Linked DNA regions of Homo sapiens: regions 1, 2, 3 and 4 are each linked to region 5. Evidence: promoter capture Hi-C in 16 types of primary human blood cells and fetal thymus (Javierre and others, 2016). All regions are on one chromosome and are shown on one strand. Each heading gives the region's core, a stretch centred on a gene start or on the middle of the fragment in contact. The rest is flanking DNA. Distances are from core to core; before and after follow the strand shown. Region 1 overlaps SLAMF6 (SLAM family member 6). Region 2 holds the start of CD84-AS1 (CD84 antisense RNA 1). Region 3 overlaps VANGL2 (VANGL planar cell polarity protein 2). Region 4 overlaps LOC105371467 (a long non-coding RNA gene). Region 5 holds the start of LY9 (lymphocyte antigen 9).

The links. The method cuts DNA at HindIII sites, captures the fragments that hold promoters and counts their contacts. A CHiCAGO score of 5 or more calls a contact.
Region 1: a fragment that was not itself captured here is called in contact with the fragment with the promoter of LY9 in region 5 in 2 of 17 cell types (total B cells and naive B cells); the score reaches 5.3 in total B cells.
Region 2: a contact is called between the fragment with the promoter of CD84-AS1 here and the fragment with the promoter of LY9 in region 5, in 11 of 17 cell types (naive CD8 T cells, non-activated CD4 T cells, total CD8 T cells and 8 more). The highest score is 14.9, in naive CD8 T cells.
Region 3: a contact is called between a fragment that was not itself captured here and the fragment with the promoter of LY9 in region 5, in 1 of 17 cell types (non-activated CD4 T cells). The highest score is 5.7, in non-activated CD4 T cells.
Region 4: a contact is called between a fragment that was not itself captured here and the fragment with the promoter of LY9 in region 5, in 6 of 17 cell types (total B cells, naive CD8 T cells, non-activated CD4 T cells and 3 more). The highest score is 7.5, in total B cells.

Annotation. Positions count from the first base shown.
Region 1 is chr1:160,487,125-160,490,551 of GRCh38, forward strand. It overlaps SLAMF6 (SLAM family member 6), which reads right to left. Exons shown (of 8, transcript NM_001184714.2): 5 at 3,074-3,112; 6 at 1,964-2,046; 7 at 1-51. Among named protein-coding and RNA genes, the nearest start is that of SLAMF6, 34 kb to the right of the region's middle. RefSeq lists enhancers at 2,216-2,345, 2,456-2,515, 3,254-3,427. The HindIII fragment of the contact is 1,001 bases long and covers 1,281-2,281 here.
Region 2 is chr1:160,535,755-160,539,063 of GRCh38, forward strand. It overlaps CD84-AS1 (CD84 antisense RNA 1), which reads left to right and starts at 1,342. Exons shown (of 2, transcript NR_188634.1): 1 at 1,342-1,433. The HindIII fragment of the contact is 1,945 bases long and covers 459-2,403 here.
Region 3 is chr1:160,401,677-160,405,136 of GRCh38, forward strand. All of the region lies in intron 1 of VANGL2 (VANGL planar cell polarity protein 2), which reads left to right. All of the region lies in intron 3 of LOC105371466 (a long non-coding RNA gene), which reads right to left. Among named protein-coding and RNA genes, the nearest start is that of VANGL2, 2.8 kb to the left of the region's middle. The HindIII fragment of the contact is 1,292 bases long and covers 648-1,939 here.
Region 4 is chr1:160,430,947-160,434,014 of GRCh38, forward strand. It overlaps LOC105371467 (a long non-coding RNA gene), which reads right to left. Exons shown (of 3, transcript XR_922202.3): 3 at 1,919-1,980. Among named protein-coding and RNA genes, the nearest start is that of VANGL2, 32 kb to the left of the region's middle. The HindIII fragment of the contact is 1,676 bases long and covers 951-2,626 here.
Region 5 is chr1:160,794,155-160,797,423 of GRCh38, forward strand. LY9 (lymphocyte antigen 9) reads left to right here and starts at 2,020. Exons shown (of 10, transcript NM_002348.4): 1 at 2,020-2,157. The coding sequence starts at 2,034. The HindIII fragment of the contact is 6,680 bases long and covers 711-3,269 here.

The DNA of each region.
Region 1 (3,427 bases), core at 531-3,030, 310 kb before region 5:
GGAGTAAATTGTGATAGTATCATTTTCTCTAGGTGTCCAGATTTCTGTTTCCTGTAAAAAGAATCATACCAATTTGGCTTACACAGAGACAAAGAGATTAATGCATAGATATATTCTTAGGAAAGACTGTGTGACAAAAAAGAGAATATGTCAAAGTTCTTCCAGAGGAAGGCTGGGGAATGTTCAGTGGAAGACCAAGCACGACTAGCTATCAAACTTGTGAGGATTTAGTGGCATTTCCTGAGCCCCAAACAGAACAGCAACACTGCAGCAAACCAATGGGCTCAAGAGCCAGAGAAAGGCAGCCTTGCTGTATGAAGGGAAGGAAGTATTCTTGTCCTTTGTCCAGCTCTACTTTCCTTCCTCCATTTTTAAGAAAAAACTTATATACCAGATAGTTTATTATATGTTTTGTCTCAAATTTTTACTAGCTATGACTGAAACTACCCATTTTGCCTGCTCCATCTTTTGCTATAATTCTAACTGCCTTGTCATCATGTCATTGGGGTCTTCTCAAGCATGGGGAATTGGTAGAATAGGAACACTTGGCCTTAAGAATGGCTCTGCCTGGAATGCACATTACAGAAATAATAGCAGAAGTCCCTACGGCCCTCAAAGAACCTACTCAAAGATTTTGACACTTTAAATTAATGAAGAAGTATTTAGAGAATTATCAAGATCTCTACTGGGCACAGTGGCTCATGCCTGTAAACCCAACACTTTGGGAGGACGAGGCAGGCGGATCACTTGAGCGCAGAAGTTTGAGACCAGCCTGGGCAACATGGTGAAACCCCGTCTCTACAAAAAGTAGAAAAATTATCCTGATGTGATGGTGCTCGCCTGTAGTCGCAGCTACTTGGGAGGCCAAGGTAAAAGGATCACCTGAGCATGAGGAGGTTGAGGCTGCAGTGAGCTGTGATTGTGCTACTGCACTCAGCCCTTGGTGACAGAGTGACACTCTGTCTCAAAAAAAAAAAAAAACCAAAAAACAAAAAACAAACCAACAAAAAACAAAAAAACCTCAAACTCTCCAAAGCACATTTTTTTTTTCTTTTTGCTAAAGAGAAAGCTAACCAATTTGTGGGAAATTAGTTTTTTGATTTGTCAGAGTGTGAGTTGACTTGTTTTCAGGAGGAATTTGCAAAGGCAAAAGAAATGTCTGAGCAAGTGAGAGTACCCCTTCTTGCTTCCTGTCATCAAGGATCATACTTTGCAAATATAGGTGAAGGGAATCCAAGATTTCTAGCTAGATCATTGCTTACATCATTTTGAAAATGCTAAGCTTTCCTGGCTTATTTTTCAGAAAACTGGCCTCTCAAAATGTATGGTATTATTTAGAGATGTGCCACCTGCAGGTCCTTTATTTAGGGGTGGTGGGGAGTTGCTGATACATGACAGATGAGTTGCTGATGCTTGACCAGCCATCCTGTTATGCTGCTAGATGAGAGGGGAGGGGTGAACCATTGCTCATGGTTTAGTGGCCTCTACTGTGCCCCCTTCCCCTCTTGAGAGACTACTTCTGAACTCCCCTAAGACCCCTACATGCAGAGTGAGAAGTCAGCCACCTGCTATGGAACTACGTCCATAGGAAACTTTCAAACTTAGTGGAACTCTGACCCATTCAGCAAGTATTTACTGATCATTATGCTAGGATATAGGGCAAGAGAGAGGAAGACATAATTTGTACTTTCAGTCAGCTTGTAATTAAGCTGAAGGGACAAGACTTACTGATGCATCAAGCGGTTGGAGAACTGTGTAAGGCAGGGTATGAATAAACATTCCCTTAAGGGTGAGAAAGGCAGACACCAGAGTGGTCTAGCGCATAACTTTGCAGCCCCTGTCGCTGTGGCTGTCTTCTCCTCCCCTCAGTGGTCATTTGTTCAGTCAGATGGTTATGGTGACAAGTTTGTGAACAATGGCTGTAAAACTGACAACAATGGCATATAAAGCTGAAAAGACTCACCCTGTTTGAATGAGTGACTGAAGCATACACAGTGTTGTTCGTTGGAGACACTGAAACATACTCTAGGTTCCTTGCGGACTCTGCTGTTAACATAGGAAGGCACAGTCAATGGCACAAGGACTCTGGGACTTCTCTCCCAGGACTTCTCCCTCCCCAGAGCACACTGTGTCCCCAGATAGGCAGGTGTTTGAAGCATCTCCTTTCCTGAGGGATCATTCGTTCTTGACAGTCTTTGGAGCTCTGGGTGAACCTTCTCAGTCATGTGGTCTATTTCTGACCACATCTCTTGGGGTAGAAGGTGGTGTTGAGGTCCCCTAAAGCTTCAGAGTCTCCCTCAGGCTTCACATGTGGGTCAGGAAGCTCCTGGGACCAAATAGCCCTGCCTATGGAAGGGCTAAAGACACCTCATTGGCAAACATAATGGAGCCAGTTATTTCACATTTGGGATATTATTAAGCTTTTCAGAGGTCTCTACAGCGGATTTGATTATTTTGGAGATGAGGAACTGGAGGCTCAGAAAACTTAACTGACTTGTGCAAAGCCATACAGACAGTGATGAAACAGCAACTCAAATGCACGTCTTCTGACTTCAAACCTTATGCCTTTTCCTCTGCAAGTGATGTCATGCATCACTCATGCATGAAATGAGACCCAAAGCCAATCTGAGTCCAGAGCCTGTGTTTGTGTTTCTATATCATGTTTTCTCTTTCCACTGTGTCTATCCATTGCCCAGACCCTGGCTGAACAGTAATGATGCAGTCAGACAGTTTGGTTTTGTGCCTTGGATGCTCTAATCCTGCCTGTGCCCTGGACTTGCTGGGTGACAAGGGATGATCCCTTTCACTGGGACTTAGTTTCTCCATCAGCAGGGTGGTGAATGAACCTGATATCACCAAGAGAAACTGTGTGAGTGACTGGTTCACATGCCTATGCCTGTGAACCATGTAGGACCCATGATTACAGATCATCTCCCCTCACAGCATGTGGTCTGAGTAATGACATTCTGACTCCTTCCTCTGTCATTATCCAGCCCTCTGCCATCCCCCTCTCTCTTCCATTTGGCTCTTCCCATCTGCTTTATGATGGAGAGTTAAGAGTCTGAATGCTCACCGGGGCCCTGTGTTCGCTGAGTAGACAAAGATAGGGAATCTGAAAAATAAAACCAGAAAATTGAAATGTGTGACAGCAGTGGGAGAGGCATTTCACCCCTAACCCCGTGAGTGTTGGGATGTGGTGGGAGGGGACCCAAAAGGAAGGGCAAGCAGCCCTGAGACAGGGTCCCACTTTTCCCAGTAGGACATTTCTCTCAGGATATTAGCAGGTGCAAGATCACACCCAGGGATTATCTCAGTGGACTAGCTGAGCCAGGGTTTGCAGCCTCCCTCCCTCCTCCTGTCTTCCACAAGAGATCCTTGGGAATCAGAGGCCCCAAACTCTCAATCACTGGAACCTTGGAGAAGAGAC
Region 2 (3,309 bases), core at 92-2,591, 260 kb before region 5:
ATTTTCTATTTCTTCATGATTCAGTCTTTGTAAAAATTGTGTCTACTTCATCTATGTTATCCAATTTGTTTGTAGTAGTCTCTTCTATTCATTTCTGAAAAATTGGTTGTAGTGTCCTCATTTTCATTTCCAATTTTAGTAATTTGAGCACTCTGTCTTTTTTTCCATAACCACTCTAACTAAATTTGCCAATTTCGTTGATCCTTTTAAGTAATCAACTTTTTGGTTCATTAATTTTCTCTATTTTATCTCTGGTCTAATCTTTATTATTTTCTTTATTTTGATAGCTTTGGGTTCATAGTAGTGGCACTTTCCCACTTGAGATCTGAATTAAGTGAAATAGAGACCAGTTCTTCATGGACTCCTAAGACAGATTAGAATATTGCAAATAAGATCTGTTATGTTCCCTCCCATTCAAGAGAGGGAACTGAGAAGTGAACTCCTGCCTCCTCTAAACAAGCTTTCTGTTGGGATGAGGAGGGGATGGGGCAAGGGCAAGAAAAATGCCATGGAACTTTTCCTACCATTTCAAAAGTGGCTTTTTCTTCATTGGGCATTTGATTGGTTGTTATAAAACTCTGACTGTTTTCCAGAGTCCCTATAAGGTTAATTCAACCATTTGGGTTTTTTTTTGTTTGTTTGGCTGTTTTTTTATTACTCTAAGTTGGGGGAAAGAGAGAGTTTGGAATTTCCTAGTCCACCACTTTGCTGACATCACTCTCTCTATCTCTATACTTTTACACTGATTTTTAAAAAGATGATAGAAATGTGTTCACATATTTCTTAAGTAACTAAAAATTAGTGACATTATCCAAGATCTTGGTGGATAAATAATATTCTCTCTGAAGAACCAATGCCCCTTAGAAAAATGACTGATTCTAGATGTGAGATAGCCTCTTATATGTATTTCTTGACTCACTTTACTAACAAGGATCTTCAATACAATACAGTTGAAGAGTAGCAGTGATCTTGTATTCACTGAATACAAGAATGGTTACTTGTATTCATTTCTTTATTAAGAATGCCTCTAATGTTTCCAATAAATGTTTGCTACATATGCTGTATCAAGTTGTAAAAGTTTAACCCGAGCCAGTCATTTGCTTATTTGCTCTCAGCTCTATTCCCACCCTTCTGTGTTCCTTGTTTTTCAGAAGGTTAGAAGTCTGCAAACTACATTTATCATTTCCATTGTCAGATGGCTTCTGATTAGATTTTGTCACTGGGTGGTATTGGTTAAAGTTGGATGGAAGGAATAAATTATATATTTTTCCATAATCTTGGTTTCTGGTAATGTTTTCAGTAGTGGCAGTGATAGCAGAAGATGAGTACCGCTTCAGGGTTCCTGGTGTAGCAGTGCAGTTCCAGCAAGCATGTCAGAAGTCTTGCTAGTGTGGTACTGGTGGGATCAGGCTTTGATGGTGGCATCTGCAGTGGTGAGTTATTTTTGTCTCCCAGAGTCTCACAGTTTTGATGAGACTGTGAACTCTTAGAATCTTGAAAGCTGGCAGCACTGATTCCCAAGACAAATTTCCATAGGGACAAAGTTCCATAGCAACTTCCTGGAATTATTAATTGCTTGGTAACCTCAGCTTCCCTGTTTTACTCCTCCATCACTTTTGGAATCAATTCCCTATATTCAGCTTGTTGAGTTTTCAGTATTTAACATGGTCTCAGTTTTTTAAAATTGGATATTGACTAAAACACATTCTATTTTTAGCTTTCTTGAAAACTTTTTAAATCAGTCATGGGTATTCAGTTTTATCAAATATATATTGTAGACTATGTCAGGATGATTATTTTTTTCATCTCCTTTAATCTGTTTGAACAGCAAATTACAATAGATGGTTTCTTAAAGATAAATCATCCTGGCACTCTAAGGATAAAATCCTACTTGGTCGCATTTTTTTTTCTTTTAATGCATTGCTTTAAAATTGACTGAAGTTTAAGATTTTTAACATTTATATTTATAAGTGAGATTGGACTATATCAGGATGTGGCAGACTTTTTCTGTAAAGGTCCCAGTAGTGAATATTGGACTTTGTGGACCATACAATCTCCTTTGCAACTACTCAACTCTGCTGGTGTAGTATGGAAGCAGCCATAATAAACACATAAAAGAATGCGTGTTGGCTGTGTTTCAATAAAACTTTATTTATGGATGCTGAAATTTGAATTTCACATAATTTTAACATGTCCCAAAATATTATTATTCTTTGAATTCTTTTCAACCATTTTAAAAATGTAAACTATTCTTAGTTCGTGGGTCAAATAAAAACAGATGGCAGACTGGATGTGGCCACACGCCATAGTTTGCTAACTCCTGGCCTATGTATCTCTTTGTGGGGGATCATCCTTATCTGGCTTTGGAATCAGTGTTATATTATAGTATTTAATGAATTTGGAAGCTTCCCACTGTTTTCTATGCCTTGGGACAGTTAAGATGACTGGGAATTATCCTTTCATTGTAGGTGATAGGACTAGCCCTTAAGACCATCTAGGCTGGTACACTTTTGGCAATTAGACCACTGAATATCTTTCCATTTTTTTTCAGGTTAAAGAATTTCTTCTAATTATAAACTAACTTTCTCTCTCTCTTTCTTTCTTTCCTTTCCTTTTCTTTTTTTTTTCTTTCTTTTCTTTCTTTTGAGAAAGAGTCTTGCTCTGTTGCCCAGGCTGGAGTGCAGTGGCACCATCTCAGCTCACTGCAACCTCTGCCTCCCGGGTTCAAGCAATTCTCGTGCCTCAGCCTTCCAAGTAGCTGGGACTACAGGTGTGTGCCACCACACCCGGCTTTTTTTTTTTTTTGTTTTTGTACTTTTAGTAGAGACGGGGTTTCACCATGTTGACCAGGCTGGTCTTGAACTCCTGGCCTCAAGTAATCCACCCACCTCAGCCTCCCAATACAGGCGTGAGCCACTGTGCCAGGGCTTAATTATAAATTTTCAACTTATAAGTTATTACATATACAAAGCCTTATACCACAGCAATCCATTGGTCCTTTCTGCCACCAGATGACATTAGCATGGCCAATATAACCATTATTTGTGTTTTGGAAAGATCACTCTGGTTGTGGTGTAGAGAATGGATTGGACTGGGAGCAGGCACGACTGCAAGAGGTCAAGTGCTATTGTCTGGGTAAGAGATGATGGCAACCTGGACTACTGTAGTTAGTGGTGAAAGAGAGGTAGATAGATTGTAGTGACATTCAGGAGTTGTGTTGGGGTTTTCAAGACCACCCCCAGATTCAGTCATTCAGTAGGAGGACTCACAAGACTCAGCATATAGCCATAGTCATGGCCGATTTATTAC
Region 3 (3,460 bases), core at 44-2,543, 390 kb before region 5:
CATCTGCTGTGTGTTTGGATATGTGTTTATATGTATACTTAGGGGAGGGCGTGTATGTCTATGTGTGTGTACTGGGAGAGGGGTTCACGGGAAAGAGGTGTGTAGGTACTGAGGAAGGTGGGTGTGTAAGAGCAGAATGGAGTGTATGTGGATAGGTGTGTGTGCACCTGTGTACTGGGAAGGGGTGTGAATCTGTGTTCTCTTGTGTGTAACCTGTGTTGATGGGTATCAATGTGTGTGCCTGCCTTAGCTGGTATGTATGTTTCTGAGTGTGTGTCGGGGGTACCTCTAGACTCTGCAGGCAGATTTTCCTGGCAAAAATCCCGAAAAGAAGGCTGTCTGCAGGATTTTGAGACTTCGTGGATGGCCTCGCCTGGGTTTAGGGGTAGTACCTTAAGTATCTGAGACCTATGGGTGGGAGGGAATGAGTTGTCTTATGAAGTGCCTGTTTTTGGGGGATGGGTTTTTCTGGAAGAGGGCGTGTGTTGTGGGGAATAGGGAACAAGGGGTCTGGTTGTAGTCCTAGAGGAATTTGGAAGATTGGCGGGGTCAGGGAGAAGAATAAGAGGAACTTCCTCCCCCATCGTCATAGGCTGGGTTCCAGCGCTTGGAGAAGCTACACTCTTGGATTCCCAGCCTTAGGTAAAAGCTTCAGGCCACAGTTCTCTTGGAAAGCCGTCTCAGAGTTTGCTGCTTCATAGCCTTCTAACTCTGCCCTGACTCTAAGATCCTAAAGTTCCTGAGGAGTCTTGAGATTTTGGTGTGGGATGGAAACAAGAGGAGGAAGCATGTCTGGAGGGTTGAGACCTGGTGGGGAACAGCTTGGGTTCCCTGCCCATGGGGTTGAGAAGGTGGCATAGGGTGTTTCTTCAGCAGCTTTTGCAAGTGAGTCTGTGTGGTTTATCAGACCAAAAAGTTTCCCTTTTCCCTGGTGTCAAGCATGATTGAGATGGAGCTGTGGGTGTGGGGCCAGGGCTGAGTGTCTGTGTGTCGGGAAAGGGCCAGGTACCCATTGCAGGCTATACTGCTATACTCATCATCATGATAGTGTGGTGGGAAGTCAGTGACTATCCAGGAAGTGAATGTCTCTTTCCACCAAGAAGCCACAGCTCCCTTCTCTCCCTGTCCTCTCTCATCCTTTCTCTTTTGGGGTATAGGAAAGGGGTTGCTCACCTCCTTCTTTAGGATACTAGCCTTCCCCCATTGCACACTCTTTTTGCTGCCAGTGGCTGGGTTGAGGCACCCAGTTTTAAGAGCTGAGGTGAGATTGTACATACCCATTATGGTCTCTGGGCAATTGCAATTGGAATGTTAGAGTCTCTAATGGGCATGTGCAATTGGAATGTTCCCTCTTTAGTCCTCAGGGCTCCCTACCCTCCCTAAGGCCTGGAGATAAGAGTAGTAGGGGTTAGAAAATGTTTGAACGAGGAACGGGGAACGGGGCAGAGTAGGAAAAGACCTTTAAAAGACCTTTTTTTTTTTTTAATGGATCATTCCCCCAAACCCAACACCTGTCTGATAGTTAGGGCTCCCAGGGCTAGTAAGGCACTTGCATCTAAGATGGTGTGCCCTGGCCCTCTGGGGTCCCTTGTTTGCTCTGTATACGCTGATCACATGCATGATATATTATGCTGGTGGGGGCTCTCTTCCAAAGAGGAGGAATTGTGGTCAGATAATAGGAAATGCCATTTCTGAAAGTACTTCCAGATTGGGAGTCAGTGGCCACGTTGGCCCCTCCTCACCCATTGTCTTGCTCCTGACTTCTATTTCCTCTAATTCTTCCGGGGCAGGCCTCTCTGGTGTGTTTGCCTCTCCTCCTGATCCTTTTAGATCTGAGGAAATATCCCCCCTTCCCTGGCCCTAGAGCAGGACAGTTTTTTATCTGCTCATCTGGTTTCCAGGTCCTTCCAGTTAATGGGGAGGGAACTTGACTAACAGAAGCTTTGGCAGGGAAAAGGAAGAGATCTGATCCCCTCTGAGTTTTAGGGAACTCCAGTCTTCTCCTTCCCTCAAGTGTTCATCACATTGTGAGGCCAGAGAAAGGAGTCAGAGTTGGTTGGAATTAGTACTTAACAGTGGTGTGATCTGGGCAAGTAATAAACCCCATTCCCCAGCCTCTTAGGTGTCTTAAGGCACATCCTCCAAGCCTAGACTGAGCCCTTCCACAAGGAATCCCTGGTCCCCCACCAAGTGGCTTTCTTCCCTGGTTTGCTTTTAAATTCTGGCTTTGCCACTGTCTAATTCCGTGACATCAGACAAAACTGGTAACTTTTTGAAGCCTCACCTGTAAAATGGAATTAATAATAGGCCCTACTTCTTGGGGTTATGAGGATTAAATGAAATAATAGAGAAAGCACGTTGCACAGTTCCTGGCACATAGTAAATGTTAGCTGGATGGTTCGGATTCTGAGGGATAATCATCATTAAGGGAGAGAGGTCGGAGTCGGGATAGGAGAACTAGGCTTTGGTTCTGATCTTCCTTTGGCCGACCACATTAGGCACTCTCTCCTATCTGCCAGGCACAGTGTGAAGCACAGGGGATGGAGGGGCAAATAAGATGTTTTCCCAGGGGAGACATGTGAAAACATGTTGATTCACTGCAGCCCAGTGAGTGCTGTGTGGAGGTGTGTTCAGGAGGCCACTGGAGCATAGAGGAAGAGTGCTTGGCCCTGGGGTGAGGTGCCAGGGAAGGTTCCTGCAGGAGATGCCCTGTTAGCTGGATTTTAAAAAAATTAAGGTGAAATTCACATAATAGGAAATAAACCATTTTAAAGTGAACAGTGGCATTTAGTACATTCACAGTGCTGTGCAACAACCACCTCTGTCTAGTCCCCAAACATTTGCACCATCCCGAAACAAAACCCATACCCATTACACAATTGTCGCCATTTCCCCTTACCCCAGCCCCTGGCAACCACCAATTTGCATCCTGTCTCTATGGATGTACCTATTCTGGATATTTCATACAAATGGAATGATAGAATGCATGACCTTTTGAATCTGGCTTCCTTCGCTTAACATAATGTTTTCCAGGTTAATCCACACGGTAGCATGTAGCATGTATTAGTACTTCATTCCCTTTTATAGCTGAATATTATTCCCTTGTGTGGACAGACTTTACCTGGTTAAAGGATGAGTTAGGCCAACAGGAAGGGTCTTAGGATGGCACTCCTGGTGGAGGCTGAGCGTGAGCAAGAAGGCACACAGGGTATTTGGTAGTCCTGTACCTTGCAGTATGAAGTGGGGATTTGGCCTCAGTTTCTCTGTCTATAAAACAAAGTTAATCATCCCTTTCCTGCTTGTGCTATGGGCTTGGTAGAGTTGGAGGTATTAGGGGAGAAGAGAGGCTAGGGTATTATTGCCTCTTCTCAGGGTCTGGGCTGGGGATGGGACTTTTAAAACTTGCTCTTTCCTCCTCTTTCCTGGGCAGCTCACTCCTGTATGCATCAACCCTCATCCT
Region 4 (3,068 bases), core at 539-3,038, 360 kb before region 5:
AGGTACTGGTTTAGAGTTGGGAAACCTGGCCAAGGCATTGGCTTCTCTCATTTCATCTCAGCAAGTTTTGGGGGCACACTTACTGTGTGGTAGGCATTGTGATACAAAGATAAATAAAACATTGGCCCCCTCCCCTTGGAGCTCATGGGACTTTTGCTAGATAAGTTGGGAAATTTTATTTTGTCATATGTTGTAGGCAACCCGAGGAAGCACACTATTTTCCTGGAGGTGGTAAATACCATCTGTAAAAGGCAGACTGAAGCCAACAGTGTGTGAGGGTATTGAGCCTGATATGTAAACTATTTTGATGTCACTTGTCAAAAATAGCCATCTGTACTCTGATATCCTGTAAGGGGAATGACTTTGGTTATAAGGTTATAAAAATTAGGAGTATGGCTGGGCGCAGTGGCTCACGCTTATAATCTCAGCACTTTGGGAGGCCGAGGCGGGTGGATCACCTGAGGTCAGGAGTTCGCGACTAGCCTGGCCAAGATGGTAAAACCACGTCTCTACTAATAATACAAAAATTAGCTGGGCGTGGTGGCACATGCCTGTAATCTCAGCTACTTGGGAGGCTGAGGCAGGAGAATCACTTGAACCCGGGAGGCAGAGGTTGTGGTGAGCCGAGATTGGGCCACTGCACTCCAGCCTGGGTGATAAGAGTGAAACTCTGTCTCAAAAAAAAAGAAAAGAAAGAAAAGAAAAAAGAAAAAAAAAATTAGGAGTATGAGATCTTCGGTTGTGTATTGTCCCTTCTTGCTTTTGGGCACAATTAGGTCATGCTGCTGCTTCACTTAGGGTAAGTATGTGGTTAAAAGTATGTGGTTTTAGGATTTTTTAGGGCAGTGGAACTACTGTGTATGTGCTATAAATGTGGATACTTGGCATTATACATTTTTCCAAACCCATAGGATATACAGTACCAGTAGTGAAGCCTAATGTAAATTATAAGCTTTGAGTGATTAATTGGAACAAATGTACCACTCTGGTGGGGGATGTAGATAATGGGAGAGTCCATGCAAGTGTGGGGGCAGGGCATGTATAAAAAATCCCTGTACCTTCCACTCAATTTTCACATGAAACTAAAACTACTCTAAAAAGGCTATTTACATTTGAGATCAGGAGTTCGAGACCAGCCTGGCCCACATGGTGAAACCCTCCCCCGCTGTCTCTACTATAAATACAAAAATTATTTTGGTGGAATGCGCCTGTAATTCCAGCAACTCGGGAGGTCAAGGCATGAGAATCGTTTGAACCCGGGAGGTGGAGGCTGCAGTGAGCTGAGATTGTGCCACTGCACTCCAGCCCGGGCAACAGAGCAAGACTCCATCTCAAAAATAAATAAATAAATTACAAACAAACTCTATTTAAAAAAACCTGACTAAGAAGACATCAAGCACAACTTTACCTAATTCTAGACACCGCTCTAGTAATAAAAGTGATAGTATTATAGGTACTTGTGATTCAGGGGAAAAAAATGCAGGTGTGTGCTGTTTCCCCTGAATCCCTTAACAGTGTCACTATGGAGCTTGGAAATCTGTTAAAGACCACTGAAGAGGAAGCTGAAGCTCTGTTGGTCCATCAATAATACTGTGACAACCAAAAATTTGCATGAGGGGACTTAAATGAGTCAGGAAACATGTGATTTAACTTAGTGAAGATTTTCACTCCTTTCAAGTTCCTGTTAATGTTAGTTCTCTTTGACATAAGAATGTGTGATTTTAGGGTGGGGTTGGCTGGGATGGTTTTTACTGTAATAAAGAACACTTGTTGAAGGACTTCTTGTCTTCTGTCAGTTTACTTATATCTTAACACAGTACCTCTGGCCTCAAAGATGGAATCCAGTTGAAGTGAAAGCAGATCCAAACTGTATCATCAGGGAAAGCTGAGCTTGTAGAATTCATTTTCAGTGACTGGTACGAGATTGTGTACTTCTGGTTTGGAGCATATTGAAGAATTCGACCCTGGGCAACCTTTTTCCTGGAATTGAAATGTTCATCGGGTTTTTACTCTGTCTTGAAATAGGTCCCCAAAATAGAGTTTTTCAAACTTTAATGGTGCGTATAGCAAGTGTACAAATCACTTGGGGATTATGTGAAATACAGACCCTGATTCAACAGGTCTGGGTAGGGTCTGAGTTTCTTCATTTCAAACAGGTGCCCAGGTGTCTTAGTCAGCTCAGGCTGCTGTAACAAAATACCATAGACTGACTGGGGGTCTTAAAATCCAGAAATTTATTCCTCATAGTTCTTGAGGCTGGAAGTCCGAGATTGGGCTGGCAAGCATGGTTAGGATCTGATGAGGGATCTCTTCTTGGCTTATAGGATGCTGCTTTCTTGCTGTGCCCTCACATGGCAGAGAGAGAGAGAGAGAGAGAGAGAGAGAGAGAGAGTGAGAGAGCGAGGTTTCTTATGTCTCTTCTTATAAGGGCACTAATTCCATCACGAGGGCCCTAGTCTCATAACCTCATCTAAATCTAATTACCTCCCAAAGGCCGCATTTCCAAATAACATCAAATTGGGGGTTAGGCTTCAACATATGCATTCTGGGGCAACACAGTATAAAGCACCAGGTGCTGCTGCTGATGTTCTACAGACCTTATTTTGAGCAGCAAGGCCCTAAAAGAAGCTTAATATACCCCTGAAAATTTGAGGGTCCTAAACACGCCTTACTTAACTCTAAGATAATTGATGCAAGAGATCAAAATTGTTAAGAGGTCTAAATTTTATGAATGTAATAAATAGTTTGGTAAGGTCATTGTTGCTCATGCTATAAAATTGTGCCACCTGTATCAAATTGTGATTTTATGAGAATCTTAAATGATATGTTGTGAGATAGGCCTTACGTGTGGAGTTTATACAAAAGCAGTTCAGTATGCAACTTAACTGATCCATGAGACGTTAATAATGACACAAAAAAAGGGCCAAAATGAGATCTTATCACTAAAGGCCATAGAAATTGAAGGAGCAGTTTCCAATATAAATTATCTTTGGCTAGAAATTTTTTTGCCAACATGACTGTATTAGTCTATTCTCATGCTGCTATGAAGAAATACCCGAAACTGGTTT
Region 5 (3,269 bases), core at 770-3,269:
AACACAGAGGCTCACTCATAGTAATTACCCAATAAATGTTAGTAATGATTTTTATTATTACCAATCTCTCTGAATTCCCTTCTGCCTTTGCCCTCGCCTCCCATGCAGACTGTTCCTGCTCTCATGTTCTGTACCCAGACTCCTTCAATAGCTTCCGCACCTGTCTTCTCATCCCCAGGCTCATCCCTTCCACCCATTCTCCCTCCACTCTGCAGCTCCAGGAAGCTTCCTACTCCTACTGGATTCTTGTTGCCTTTAGCTTGGTAACAGGATGCTTTATCTGGGCTCTGGTAACCTCTCCTGACCGTATGTCCTGCAATCCCCTCTAGACAGCCCATGTTCTAGTCACAGGACCAAGGCTAGAGTGAAACAAGACACGCTCCTAGTGCACAAAATTTAAAGATTTTCGAGATTCTGTCACTTTCAATATTGTGCAACATCAGATCATGACCAGCCTCTAAAGATGCTTTCCATGGACATAAGCCTGTTATCTTAATGGTTTCTCTCTCTCTCTCCCTTCTTCCTTTGAACCCAGACTTCCTGGGTTCAAGTCCTTACTAACTATAAAACTTATAGTAAGCTATTTAACCCCTCTCCACCTCAGTTTTCTCATTTATAGAATGGGGATGATAAAAGATATCTCATAAAACTATTGTAAGATCAAATGAGTGAATATGTTAAAGTGTCAGAAGATGGACTAGCACTCTGTAAGCTTTCATCGAATATTAGCTAAAACTACACATTCTGCCAGCCTCAAGTTTTCCTGCCAAGTCCCCTTAATGTTACAGCCTAAGTAAACAAATGACCTGAAGCCCGAAACACAAACCATAGCATGGCCAGCTATTACGCTACTGACAAGAAGAAGGAGGAGAAAAAGACAGTTTCCCAAGTCAGGATATAGGGAATCATGCCATTCTCCAGCCTACCTTTTCAACTCAGTCACCTCTACGCTGTCACATACGATGTCCACCCCCATTGCAGTCTCCCTGATGCCTTTGTCCATATTAAAAGTCCTTCATTGCATGTGACAGAAAGCTAGCACAAACTGCCTTGAGCAAAATAGAAAATGTATTGGGTCACTGTATTAGTTATCTGTTGCTGTGTAACAAATTGCCCCAAACTTCACAGCTAAAAACAATAAGCATTTTTGATGAAAAATAAAAAATTGAAAAAAAATTTAAAAACCAAACATTTATTATCTCACAGTTTCTCTTGATAAGGAATCTGGGCATGGCTTAGCTGGGTGCCTCTGGCTTAAGGTACTCACACAACTAACATCACGGTGTCAGCCAGGGCTGCAGTCATTTCAAGGACCTCCTGGGGAGGATCCACTTCCAGTCTCACTCATGTGATTCTTGGCTAGCCTCAGTCCTCATGGACAGTTGGCCAGAGGAATCAGCTCCTCGCCGATTGTTGGCTGGGGGCCTCCCTCTGTTCTTTGTTTTGGAACCCTCTCCCTAAAGTATCTCACAAAACAATACCTGGCTCCCCTCAGTGTAAGGTAGGGAGACAGAGATAGTGGGAAAGACAGAGAGGGAGAGAGGGCAAGAGAAAGAGAGAGCGCATATGCACACACATGCTAACCCAAGATGGAAGTCACAGCTTTTTTGTAACCTAATCTCAGAAGTGACCCATCCCACATCTCTGCCACATTCTATTCACTTGAAGCAAGTCACTAAATCCAGGCCACACTAAAGAAGAGGTGATTACACAGAGGCATGAATGCCAGGAGGTACAGATCTTTAGCAGTCACCTTTAGGAGCCAAATTTAGAACCCAAGTCCCTTGATGTCAAAGCAAGTGATGCTCCACATCAGTCACAAATGAGGCCCTGAATAGACTTGGGACCTCTACCTGCCTGCGCAGATGGGAGGAGTCTGTGGTGTTTTGTATAAACAACCCTCCCTCTGAGACACACACACATACACATACACATGCACACACACACTCATATACACATGCAGAAGCTGTGACACGTGCGGAAGCTGTGGTAAGTGCATCCTCCTTCAGTCTCAGTTCTGAAAATAGATCATCATGGTGGCACCAAAGAGTCACACAGATGACTGGGCTCCTGGGCCTTTCTCCAGTAAGCCACAGAGGAGTCAGCTGCAAATATTCTCTTCTGTTCTACAGACCTCTCTCCTCTTCCTGCTCATGGGTAAGTCCACTTTATGGCCACCACTTCTTGCTACTGCGGTTCTTCTGAGGCCAGTTGCATTCCCTGCCTGGGAGATTCTTTTTTTTGTTTTTTGTTTTTTTTAACGGAGTCTCACTCTGTTGCCAGGCTGGAGTGAAGTGGCGCAATCTCGGCTCACTGCAACCTCCACCTCCTGGGTTCAAGCGATTCTCCTACCTCAGCCTCTTGAGTAGCTGGGATTACAGGTGCATGCCAACACACCCAGCTAATCTTTGTATTTTTAGTAGGGGCAGGGTTTCACTATGTTGGCCACGGTGGTCTCGATCTCTTGACCTCGTGATCTGCCCAGCTCAGCCACCTGAAGTGCTGGGATTACAGGCGTGAGCCCAGTTCTTGTTGGTAAAATCGGGAAACTCATCTCCTTGCCAGAAATTACTTTGCATGTGTGCATATTCGTGCACTATGAAGGGGGTAACATTCTAGCCCCGGTCTCAAATAGCTCTGGGCTCAAACTACATTTCTCTTGCCCTCACATTTTCCTAAGAAATGCCAAGTATATAATGAGTTTGTTCCCTGTATGGTGTGGATAAAACCCACAGAGGGATCCAGGAAAATCCCCTGATGAGAAGCCACCTAGCAATTTCCTAGGGATGGAGAGAACTTCTGGAGCTTCTTTCTATGTATCCTGCCTTGGTTATCATATATGCTGGCTTTATTACTGAGGTTTCACTGGGGACCTGGACGCGGTTAGGTGACCATGGGCAAGGTGGCGTTTATCTGGATATCCTTTTCTCCTCAACCTTATTCCTCCCTATCAAGGCCCAACTCCTGGGAAACATCTCTCCGCTGCATGGCCCGGAACCCCACTGTCCAGCAGATAGAGCCAATCCAGTACCCCAGAGAGGATCTCAGCCACCTGGGACTGTGGCAGCTACTGTCCTTCTGTGCTCCCGCTTTCTCCAGGGCTTCAGGGATGATGGTGCAGGTAGCACTAGAGATCTGAGAGCAGTGGGGGTTGGCAGTTGGTGCCTGAAGGGAGCTTTAGAAACACTCCTAGATGCAGATATGGGTGAACGAGGAGCCTAGACCTCAGAGCTGAGGTCCAGTCTGACCTCTTTTCACTTTCAATTTTA